Regions from separate parts of the Homo sapiens genome. Here all the other regions are linked to region 3. The links are contacts of gene promoters, found by promoter capture Hi-C in blood cells and fetal thymus (Javierre and others, 2016). All regions are on one chromosome and are shown on one strand. The core of a region is centred on a gene start or on the middle of the fragment in contact, and the rest is flanking DNA. Distances in the headings are between cores, read along the strand shown.

The links. Contacts are between HindIII fragments. The CHiCAGO score rates a contact against its expected background, and 5 or more counts as called.
Region 1: a contact is called between the fragment with the promoter of PLK3 here and the fragment with the promoter of TESK2 in region 3, in 17 of 17 cell types (naive CD4 T cells, total CD8 T cells, non-activated CD4 T cells and 14 more). The highest score is 20.8, in naive CD4 T cells.
Region 2: a fragment that was not itself captured here is called in contact with the fragment with the promoter of TESK2 in region 3 in 7 of 17 cell types (fetal thymus, naive CD4 T cells, endothelial precursors and 4 more); the score reaches 7.8 in fetal thymus.

The regions. Positions count from the first base shown.
Region 1 is chr1:44,797,782-44,801,638 of GRCh38, forward strand. It overlaps PLK3 (polo like kinase 3), which reads left to right and starts at 2,596. Exons shown (of 15, transcript NM_004073.4): 1 at 2,596-2,892; 2 at 3,059-3,166; 3 at 3,255-3,371; 4 at 3,841-3,857. The coding sequence starts at 2,683. RefSeq lists enhancers at 1,600-2,268, 1,953-2,012, 2,063-2,452, 3,223-3,272 and a silencer at 2,553-2,832. The HindIII fragment of the contact is 10,835 bases long and covers 1,221-3,857 here.
Region 2 is chr1:44,845,588-44,849,426 of GRCh38, forward strand. No RefSeq gene overlaps it. Among named protein-coding and RNA genes, the nearest start is that of PTCH2, 4.3 kb to the left of the region's middle. The HindIII fragment of the contact is 3,756 bases long and covers 1-3,488 here.
Region 3 is chr1:45,488,902-45,492,554 of GRCh38, forward strand. TESK2 (testis associated actin remodelling kinase 2) reads right to left here and starts at 2,262. Exons shown (of 11, transcript NM_007170.3): 1 at 1,951-2,262. RefSeq lists enhancers at 1,920-1,969, 2,256-2,550 and a silencer at 2,200-2,419. The HindIII fragment of the contact is 2,357 bases long and covers 538-2,894 here.

The DNA of each region.
Region 1 (3,857 bases), core at 1,346-3,845, 690 kb before region 3:
GATTACAGTCATGAGCCACCACTGCACGGCCCCAAAATTTATTTATTTTATTATTATTATTATTTTTTAGATGGAGTCTCCTTCTGTTGCCAGATTGGAATGCAGTGCCACGATCTCAGCTCACTGCAACCTCCCCCTCCTGGGATCAAGTGATTCTTTTTTTTTTAAGACTCTGTCTCAAAAAAAAAGAAAAAAAAAAAAAATATATATATATATATATATATACACGAATTTTGGGCCAGGCACAGTGGCTTATGCCTGTAATCCCAGCACTTTGGGAGGGCCGAGGTGGGTGGATCACAAGGTCAGGAGTTTGAGACCAGCCTGGCCAATATGGTGAAACCCTGTCTCTACTAAAAAATACAAAAATTAGCTGGGCGTGGTGGCACGAGCCTGTAATCCTGGCTACTCTGGAGGCTAAGGCAGGAGAATCGCTTGAACCGGGGAGGCAGAGGTTGCAGTGAGCCAGGATCGCATCACTGCACTCCAGCCTGGGTAACAGAGCAAGACTCTGTCTCAAAAAACAAACAAAACAAAACAAAACAAAATAAATAACGGTGCAAAATTGAATATGCCTTTTTGACTCTCTAAATGCCTCAGATCCATTTACCCTGGGGATTTGTCCTTTCTAGCCCCACCACCATCTCCCCTCTGGAAGACTGCTGACCTATAAGGATAAAGACCAGACTCTTGAGCAGGCACTTAGGGTCTTCCTGCCCATCCCTATCCCCAACTCCCCCTCAGTAATTTTGGCTACTAGTATTTCTCCACATCTGAGGCTATCGTGGGTCTCCCTTCAGTGGTCATGAAGGACAAGGTTGGAGAAGTTTGCCCTCGTGAGTCTGATGAGGGATTGGGTGGGATCCCTCTAATAGCATATGGAGGGGATGAAATGGGCATGAGACCAAAGGCCAGGAGAGCAGCAAGGAGCTGTGGCAATCATCCTGACAAGAGAGACTGTGGCCCAGGCCAGGGTGTGAGGGGAAGATGGAGCCAAGGGGATAGATATCAGAGCTATTTGGGAGGTAAAATTGGCACAAATTGGGTACTCAGCAAATATTTGTTGACTTTCCTGGCTACTCTTTCTAAAGTAGGCTCTTCATTTGCTCTTCTGTTTATTCTTCCTTCATAGCACTTTTCACAGCCTGCAATTACCTTGTTTATCTGCTTGCCTATTGTCTGTTTCCATCAAGCAGAATGTAAACTAAATGAGGGCTGCAAGCTTGATTAGTTTTATTCGAGATAGTGTCCAGCACTTAGCAGATGCTCTCAATAAATCTTTGAGGAATGGCATGGTAATTGATTGGCTGGCACAGAGGGAGGGCAGAGAGGTGAGAGACAAGGCCAGGAGGCCTGTGGTCCTGGGCCTCTGTCTCTGGCCCTGGGAAGGGTGGGCATTGCGCAGGGGTCTAGGGGTCCACGTGGTCCAGAGACTAGCTGCCCAAGTGCCCGTGTCTAGCATTTGAGAAAATGCAATTCCCAGCCAGGCAAGGTGGCTCACGCCTGTAATCCCAGCACTTTGGGACGCCGAAGCGGGTAGATCACCTGAGGTTGGGAGTTCCAGACCAGTCTGACCAACATGGAGAAACCCCGTCTCTACTTAAAAAAAAAAAAATACAAAATTAGCCGGGTGTGATGGCGCATGCCTGTAATCCCAGCTGCTCGGGAGGCTGAGGCAGGAGAATCGCTTGAACCTGGGAGGCAGAGTTTGCGATGAGCCAAGATCGCGCCATTGCACTCCAGCCTAGGCAACAAGAGCGAAACTCTGTCTCAAAAAAAAAAAAAAGAAAGAAAGAAAGAAAAAAGAAAATCCAATTCCCATTCACTTTCTGGCCTCTGGCTGCTGACCCAGGCCCGGGGGTATTTTCAGAGGAAGGGAATTGCGGACCCCGGAGGAACCCGAAATTTGCCCCTCAAGAGTGTAGAAGTGGGTAGCGGAAGATGTGGCCTGGAGCATGGTAAAAGCCTTGAAATTCCAGACTCTGCTTGACTCCTAAACCTGGCAAGGCAGCCCTCGGGCCAGGCAAGCCAGGCGCGAGACTGTGCCTTCCTTCCAGGCCCTAAAGAGGGCAGCACTGGGCCGGGCCCCGGGCGAGGGCGAGGGACACACGCGGTCCGGCACACTGAAAGGGGAGTGTCGGGTAACATGCCCGGGCAAAAGCGAGCGCCGCCCCTGCCTCTCCGCTGCTGGCTGGAACGCTGATCTATCTAGTTGCTGGGGAGACGCCCCCAGATGCCCGGGCCCCACTCGGACTTCAGCACACATCCCGAAGGATGGGGAAAGAAAGAGGCCCCCACGAGCGGGACTCGCAGTGGCCAAGGAGGGGTGAGAGGCGGACAGGGATCAGCTGGCCCCTGCGGCCTGGTTGCACCTGCATGGTGACTAGCTGCCGGGCTGCGCCCCGGGGCGCGGCGAGGAGGCGGGGTCTGGCAGTGCGTTGGGTGGGGGAGGAGCTTCTGGGTGATGTAAGGCCGGGAATGGGAGTGGCCTCTCCTCGACTCGCTGCTAGGAAGGGGGCGGGACTCTCGGTGACCAGACGCCGGGGAGGGGGCAGGCGTTCATTGATAAAACGCTGGGCTCCCCTGGGCGCCAGCGCAGCGTAGCAAATCCAGGCAGCGCCACGCGCGGCCGGGGCCGGGCGGAACCGAGAAGCCGGGACCGCGCTGCGACGCGCCGGCCGCATGGAGCCTGCCGCCGGTTTCCTGTCTCCGCGCCCCTTCCAGCGTGCGGCCGCCGCGCCCGCTCCCCCGGCCGGGCCCGGGCCGCCTCCGAGTGCCTTGCGCGGACCTGAGCTGGAGATGCTGGCCGGGCTACCGACGTCAGACCCCGGGCGCCTCATCACGGACCCGCGCAGCGGCCGCACCTACCTCAAAGGCCGCTTGTTGGGCAAGGTGGGCCGAGGGACGTCCGCGGGGTGGTGATGGTGGAGGTGGGGGTCCCGGCCGGCCTCTTTTCTGGCGCCGAGCAGGGCGTGGGCACTTGACCCCCAACGCGGGGACGCCCGCGGGCCAGACTCGGCCCCCCTGGAACAACCAGCCTGATGCCCCCTCTTCACAGGGGGGCTTCGCCCGCTGCTACGAGGCCACTGACACAGAGACTGGCAGCGCCTACGCTGTCAAAGTCATCCCGCAGAGCCGCGTCGCCAAGCCGCATCAGCGCGAGAAGGTGGGTCCAGGCTCAGCGGGCGAGGGGTGGGGTGGGGACGGTGGCATGGGAACCATGGAAGGATGACGACTCCGCGCCCTCATCGCAGATCCTAAATGAGATTGAGCTGCACCGAGACCTGCAGCACCGCCACATCGTGCGTTTTTCGCACCACTTTGAGGACGCTGACAACATCTACATTTTCTTGGAGCTCTGCAGCCGAAAGGTGAAAGATGGTGATTCCCGCAGGGATGAGAGTGAGGGAGAGAAGACAGTCTTTTTTTTTTTTTTTTTTTTTTTTGAGATGGAGTCTTGCTCTGTTGCCCAGGCTGGAGTGCAGTGGCGCGATCTCGGCTCACTGCAATCTCTGCCTCCCGGGTTCAAGCAATTCTCCTGCCTCAGCCTCCTGAGTAGCTGGGATTACAGGCATGCACCACCACGCCCGGCTAATTTTTGTATTTTTAGTAGAGACAGGGTTTCACCCTGTTGGTCAGGCTGGTCTCAAACTCCTGACCTTGTGATACACCTGCCTTGGCCTCCCAAAGTGCTGGGATTACAGGCGTGAGCCACTACACCCAGCCGAGAAGACAGTCTTAAGACCCAAAGCTGGGGCCCTGTTTCTTCCTCAGGGAGCACAGATGGAGGGGGAGGGGGAGGGAGGGCTCACCAGGGGCTGAGGCAGTGGCTCTCTGCAGTCCCTGGCCCACATCTG
Region 2 (3,839 bases), core at 361-2,860, 640 kb before region 3:
CCCAGCCCTTTGGGAAGCTGAGGCGGGAGGATTGCTTGAGGCCAGGAGTTCAAGCCCTGGCAACATAGTGAGACCCCATCTCTACAAAAAATAAAAAATTAGCTGGGTGTGGTGGCGCACACCTGTAGTCCCAGCTACTTGGGAGGCTGAGGCAGGAGAGTTGATAGAGGCTGCAGCGAGCTGTGATTGTGCCATTGCACTCCAGCCTGGGCGACAAAGTGAGACCCTGCCTCAAAAAACAATAATAATGATAACATAAAAAATTTAAGGTTAAAAAGAACTGTACCCCTAGCAAGTCTCTGAAATAGAAACAGCCTCTAACTTAAGTCTGTATGGGCCCCTAGTTTGCTCTTGGGGCAATAGCTGAAGACAGGGAGTGGCCTGGACTCAGCACTGGTTGTCATCAGGAGTACAACTCCCGATGCTATGCTTTAAGTAAGTCTTAATCTCCTTCCTTTTTACCAGACTCTGCAAGACATAAGGTCCATGGATAAATAGATTTGTAACCACTTGGGCCTTGGGACTCTGCTTTCATCATAGGCCCATCACTGCTAACAATTGTGACAAAGTCCACCATTTCTATGGATGCTTCCAAGGCCAAGTCTGTCTATTAAGGAAACCTCTTGCCTTATAGTTCAAAGACTAGGATGGAAGAAATGGGTCTACAGTTTCCAGCCTTTCCAACCTAGGGCCTAGTGCTGTCTGGCTGCTCCAAGCTACAAAATGACCTGTCTTCTCCCAAACAAAATGGTTTCCTGAGCCCAGCTAAGCTCAGCCAGAGCCAAAGCCATAGACCCCAGGAATAGGAAGGGATAAAGAGGCTTCTCTTCTCTTTCTGCAAGCAGCCTCCTTTATGATAGAACAGCTTGTTTCACTGTCATTTCCACTGGTCCTGGGTACGTGTTTTGGGCCTAAACTAGAGATATTCTCCAAATAACAGGATAAAAGCAATCTAATTAAATCTCATTACTGACTCATGAAACAAACGTCTTGGGATCTCCTTTTTTTAAATTTTTTCAATGAGACAGGGTCTCATTCTGTCACCCAGGCTGCAGTGCAGTGGCATGATCTTGGTGCACTGCAGCCTCTACTGCCCAGGCTCAAGTGATCCTCCCATCTCAGCCTCCCGAGTAGCTGGGACCACAGGCGCGTGACACCACGCCTGGCTAATTTTTTTGTATTTTAGTAGAGACAGAGTTTCACCGTTTTGCCCAGGCTGGTCTTGAACTCTGAGCTCAGGCAATCCACCCGCCTCGGCCTCCCAAAGTGCTGGGATTACAGGCATGAGCCACCGCGCCCAGCCTTGGGATCTCTTATGTGTCCATTCCTTTGCTGGGTTCTGGTGTTGCAGGGTACCTGCTTTTTAGAAGTTCATAGCCTGAGGGGGAGCACAGAGACCACAGGGGAAACCACTGAGTTGGGGGTACTCAGGGATGTTTCCAGAAGTGAAAGGAACTGGATGGGAGAGGTGGGAGGATGACAGAATCTAAAAGGAAAAGGAATGGCTCATGGTCTGGATCTTTCATTTGCTGGTTGTGAGATCTCAGGGAAGTCACATAATCTCTGACATTAACATAAGGATTAAATGAGATAATACATATGGCTGAGGAACAGTGCCAGGAAAAGTGAGGCAGCCCACACTCACATACACACAGTGCTGGGTAAAGTGACCAGTCTGGCTTCAGGGGTGGGTTCATGTGGGAGTTAATTCATGGTGGAGGCAAGGCAGGCTTGCTTTCTCTGGCATTCCTCTAGGCTTCTCACTCGCCAGCTTTTGGCTGCTTCTGTTATCTAGGCCAAGCAGAGTCAATGACCCTGAGATGTGGAGGAGGGAAGTGGGGGTCCTGGGCAGCCCCATCACCACCTGTTATATTTAGGGGCCAAGCCTGGGTATGTATGCTCCTTCCCTGTGGGCAGGTTGAGGCCAATAGCACCTATCAAGTATTTGTTTGTTTGAGATGGAGTTTTGCTCTTGTTGCTCAGGCTGGAGTGCAGTGGTGCCATCTTGGCTAACTATAACCTTCACCTCCTGGGTTCAAGCGATTCTCCTGCCTCAGCCTCCTGAATAGCTGGGATTACAGGCGCCCGCCACCACGTCGGGCTAACTTTTTGTATTTTTAGTAGGGATGGGGTTTCATCATGGTGGCCAGGCTGGTCTTGAACTCCTGACCTCAGGTGATCCACCCACCTTGGCCTCCCAAAGTGCAGGGATTACAGGCGTGAGCCACCGCGCCTGGCGTACCTATCAAGTATTTGGTGCCAGGGCTGCAGCCAGAGATTAGGGAATGGTCCTTCACTTTAAGTGTGGGGGAAGGAGACAGGCTAAGAACAAATGCAGCCTCTCTCTATTTATCCATGGCAGAAAGGCCCCGATGCAATCATCCTGGGTAGTGGCAGATGGCTCAGGCCAAGGACAGGTCATACTGGCTTCCAGTAGAATGTGTTCTCCTGCCCAGTCTCTCTCCCTCTGGGTCAGCTTCATTAGAGCAGAGCTTTCTAGACTTTCTGTCTGGGTGGTCCTTTCCATGGGCCTCCCCCTTCCTCAGACACATTTAACTATTTAGAAAGCTGCATACAAAGGCCTGGTTTATGTACCTCCTTAGGAGTAGGGATAGCTGTGGATAAAGAAAGTGTATCCCCTGCAATTCTCTGGAAATAGAAACAACTTCTCAACTAGGCCATGCAGGCCCTAGATTCCTGTTGGGGCTACAGCTAAACACAATTTCCCTCTCTCCACTGAGTATGGAAGTGGGATGGTAATAGTAAAGTAGTGAAGAACTGGGAAGAAGTTCGACCTTTGGCCTTGGGGAACAGCTTGGAGGGCAATCTTGGCAGTCTTATAGGCTCACAGGAGCTTATGGGCCCTCACTTCAAGTATGGGGAAAGGAGAGAGGCTAAGAACCAATGCAGCAGCTCCCCATTTATCCATGGCAGAAGGCCCCTGATGCAATCATCCTGGGTAGTGGCAGTCTTCTCGGCTCAAGGAACTCTTGCCAGCAGGCAAGGATGAATTGTAACTGGGGGATGGATTCCTGGAGTAGCAGCTGTCAAGTTTTGTCTGACCCGGCAAGCTCCCGGAACCCTGTTCCTCAGCACATCCCCAGGGTCCTCCCTGATTCGGCATTCGAGGTCCCCTTTCTCCTCTTCCTCCACTTCCCTCATTGAGCATCACTGGGAGAGGCAGGGCAGACCCTATTAACTCTTCTGCCTGCCTTGCTTTTCTGATTTCTGTCCATGGAGAGGTGGCCGGCCAGTGGACATTCAGTTGCTCACTATGTTTCAGACATACTCAGCCCCTCTGTAGCTGCTACCAAAAGAAAACAAAAACTGTCCCTGCCTTCTGGCAGACAAACAGGGCAAAGAGAAGAAAAATCAAAGCATCTTGGGCACCCAGCCAGTCCTGGAACTGTCAGACAATAGCAGCAGTGTCCTGAGCTGGGGGCTGCTCCCAGCTGGGACTCAAACTCAACAACACCTTCCTCTGGGAAAGCTTTTACCTTTTGTTTTCTCCAGCTCCTTCCTTTCCTTGATGCAGAGGCCGTTCCATGGACTTGTGCAAAGGGAAGGCACAGGAGAGGTTTTTCCTCTGTCTCACTGTCAGGGGTTCTAAGGGCTCCATGGGGAAGGACAGGAAAGGGTACATAGGAGGGCTCTGAGACAGTTTAATCAATGCCCTTTACTCCTCCACCGCACTTTCCCTCCCAACCCTTTTCTCTGCTCAAGGAGCAATCTTCTGGCTCCTTGGGAGACCCTAAGGGGAAGAAAGCTCTGGGAAAGAGGACAAAACCTGAGAAACAGAAGGGCCTTTAACATTCAAACAGTCGAACTTTCTCATTTTG
Region 3 (3,653 bases), core at 1,012-3,511:
CTGTAACCCCAGCTCTTTGGGAGGCCGGGGAAGGCAGATAGCTTTGAGCTCAGGAGTTCGAGACCAGCCTGGGCAACGCAGAGAAATCCCGTCTCTACAAAAAATACAAAAAATTATCTGGGTGTGGTGGCTCCTGCCTGTGATCCCAGCTACTCAGAAGGCTGAGGTGGGAGGATCCGAGACTGCACCACTGCACTCCAGCCTGGGCGACAGAGTGAGACCCTGACACCAAAGAAAAAAAAAAAAAAGCTTCTTAACTCTCATTCAGCTGGACCTCGAAAGCACGTGACATTGATAGTCACCGCCCCCCACTCCCTTCTTGAAATCCTTTCTTTGGCTCCTATTATAATGCTGTTATGTTCTAGTTCTTGTCCCGTTCCTTTAATCTCTCTTTTTCAGTGTCTATTACCTTTCAAACAATGATGCTCCTTCTGGTCCACAGCCCTTCTCATCTTTCAGTATTACCATTCCATACTAAGGCACACAAATATCCCCCATATATTCTCTTGACCCTCCAAATTTATGTATCCAGGTCCAAGCTTTCTCCCAATTTTCAGACCCAAATTTCCAGATACCCACAGTGATATTTCAAAACACCTCAAACTCGGCTGGGAGCAGTGGCTCACGCCTGTAATCCCAGCACTGTGGGAGGCCGAGGTGGGCGGATTGACTGAGGTCAGACGTTCGAAACCAGCCTGGCCAACGTGGGGAAACCCCGTCTCTACTAAAAGTACAAAAATTAGCCGGACGTGGTGGCGCATGCCTGTAATCCCAGCTACTCGGTAGTCTGAGGCAGGAGAATCGCTTGTACCTGGGAGGAGGAGGTGGCAGTGAGCTGAGATCGTGCCACTGCACTCCAGCCTGGGTGACAGAATGAGACTCCGTCAAAAAAAACAAAAACTAACAAACAAACCCTGAAACTTAACTTGTTCAAAACCAAATTTATTACCTTCTCTCAAAATTGCTTTTTTATGCTCCCTATTTCAGATGAGATCAGGAGCGTTGAGGGTGGTATAACCAGAGACTATGTTCCCTATTTCAATTAACACTACCGATTCACACCATCAGCCAAGTCAGAAACTTTCTACTATTCTTCTCAACTTTATTTTGAAACCTCTTGGAATTTCGGGCCATTCCCTCCCGCCTGGATGAGCACACTCGTTTTCTGCCTACCTGGCCTTTCCGCCTCCACGGTCTTCACTTTCAATCCTTCCTCTATATTTTCACCAAAGATAATGCAATCATACCAAGCTCCTGCTTACAAAACCTTCAACGGCTCCCCATGCATGCAGCATGAAGTCCAAATTCCTCAGCAAGTTCTTCTCAGAGGTATACAATTTAAAGACTTTTAAATTACGCAAACCTGGATTTCGCTTGTAGCGAAATCTGAACACTGGCTTAGTCCACTCTTCACAGCGAAGAGTAAAAAGCAGAGAGGGGAAAGGAAGGGAGACGATGACAAGCGAGGAAAGAAGAGGGGGAAGGCAGTAGGGTCTGAGGGGAGGGAATTGTTTTCCTGGGTAGAGGTGAACGTTTTCGAGGGAAGAGTGTATCGGAGGGAAGTCAAGTGAAGGAACCCAGATCTCTGAGGCAGGAGCGGGTATGCGAGCAGGGAGGCGCTCAGTGGGGAGCTGGAAGTCTCTGAAACAAGAGTTTTCCGAGAAAACGAAAGATCCCTAATGCGAGCGAGGTAACTTCTAATGGGTTCCCAGGTTCTAAGGGGGAGCAGACGTGGCGGGGAGCCTGAGGGAAGTGAGAAGGAAAGGGGAAAGCGGCCAGGAAGGGAGCGTCCGCCGCCGCTGAGAGGGGGACCTCTGGGAAGCCGAGGGGTCCCGTCGGGTGCGGAGGGACGCAGGCGCCTCTGCTCCGGGGCAGAGGAGGTGGAGCGGCAGCGCGCGCGGGCCAGGCAGGATGCCCGGGTTTGTGACCCCCGTCCTCTTTTCACGTTACCTGAGGCAGGACTGAGCAGCCAGAGGGGTGCCTGCGCGGGCAAGAGGAGGAGACGGCGGCAAAGAGGGAGCATAGTAACCCTCACAGCTCGTTGGTGGCAGCGGCTCCTTAGCCTGCGGAGGCGGTGGGAGCCCCTAGCGCAGAAGCCGGCGACTCAGCTAGGCTAGCGGCGGCGGCGAACGAGGAGACTACTGCCATGGCCCCACAGTCGGGGCCGCTCCCCCCGCCTGTTTGGCGGGGCCAGGAGGACGATCCGACCAGCGAAGCCAACAGGGCAGCTGGTAGCTCTGCTGAGCTCCCGGGCCGCGAAAGACTGAAACGCCTACCCGGCCCAGCAGGGGGGTTGGGGGCGGGGTCTCGGCTGGCCACGCCCCTCCCTCAAGCCCTCCCTCAGAGTAGCCAGTCAACCGTCAACTCCTGATAAACGAGGTAGTGGAATTGCCCAATTAGCGCTAGGAATGCCACGTGGTATGAGGGTGGGCACAATGGGCGTCCAGAAAAGCCAATCAACAGCCGTAGGTGCCAACTCCGGAGGACGAAGGGAACCAATAGGAAGGAAGTCGAGGTAAAAACAGAAGAAGCAGTGTGTGGGAAAGGCGGAACCGAGGAGGAGGGAATACACCTGGGGGAAACCCAAGTCCAGGAGCCTCTTAGAGGGCGGGGCAGTAAACACAAGATGGACCAATAAAAATGTTAAACACAGAAATGATTGGTAATTGATAAAGCCAATAGAAAATGGACTAGACTGGCGCGGCTTTCGGGTTGGTCAAGGTATAGCTGAGTAAGGAAAAGCGGTAAGAATGCTGCGTCCTGCAGGATTTCAGTATAGTGAGGAGGAAAAAATATATCAATAATACCGACTTGAAATAGTAAGAGCAATCAGTAGAGCTAAACAAAATGCTAGGGAAGCAATTAATCATGACTATGAGATTCGGTTAAGTGAAAGCTTAGAGGAGGTAACACTTCAGCTAGCTTGAAAACAGATTTTGAAAGAAAGCTGGTGGGGAATAAGTTGGGATTTTTTGTTGTTTTTGTTGGTTGTTTTTTTTTTAGAAGGGTCTCACTCTGTCGCCCAGGATGATGGAGTGCAATGGAGCGATCATGGCTCACTTGCAGCCTCAAACTCCTGGATTAAGATGATCCTCCCAACTCAGCCTCCCCGGATAGCTGGGACTACAGGCACACGCCAGCATGCCTGACTAATTTTTTGTATATTTTGTAGAGACGGGGTTTACCATGTTGCCCAGGCTGGTCTGTAACTCCTGGACTCAAGTGATCGGCCCACGTTGGCCTACGAAAGTGCCGGGATTACAGGCGTGAGCCACCGCTCCCAGCTAAGAATTCTGCCCAGCTGTTCAAGGCACATATTTCTTCACTTTTTGCATGTGCCTGGACATCAGGAGCTCATAATCTCATGACTGAAGAGACTAGAACAGGAGGAGGGCAAGAGCAAGCAGTATGGGCCTTACTGTATTAGCACTCCCAGGGGTTAGAGACCCCTTTTCAGACATCTTAAGACTTTCATCCTCCTGGAAGAGTATAAGTGGTATGCATTCCTGGTGGCCATAAAGTTTAAGAAATATGGCCAGGGCCGGGAGCAGTGGATCACGCCTGTAATCCCACCACTTTGGGAGGCCGAGGCAGGGGGATCACGAAGTCAGAAGATCGAGACCATCCTGGCAAACATGGTGAAACCTCGTCTC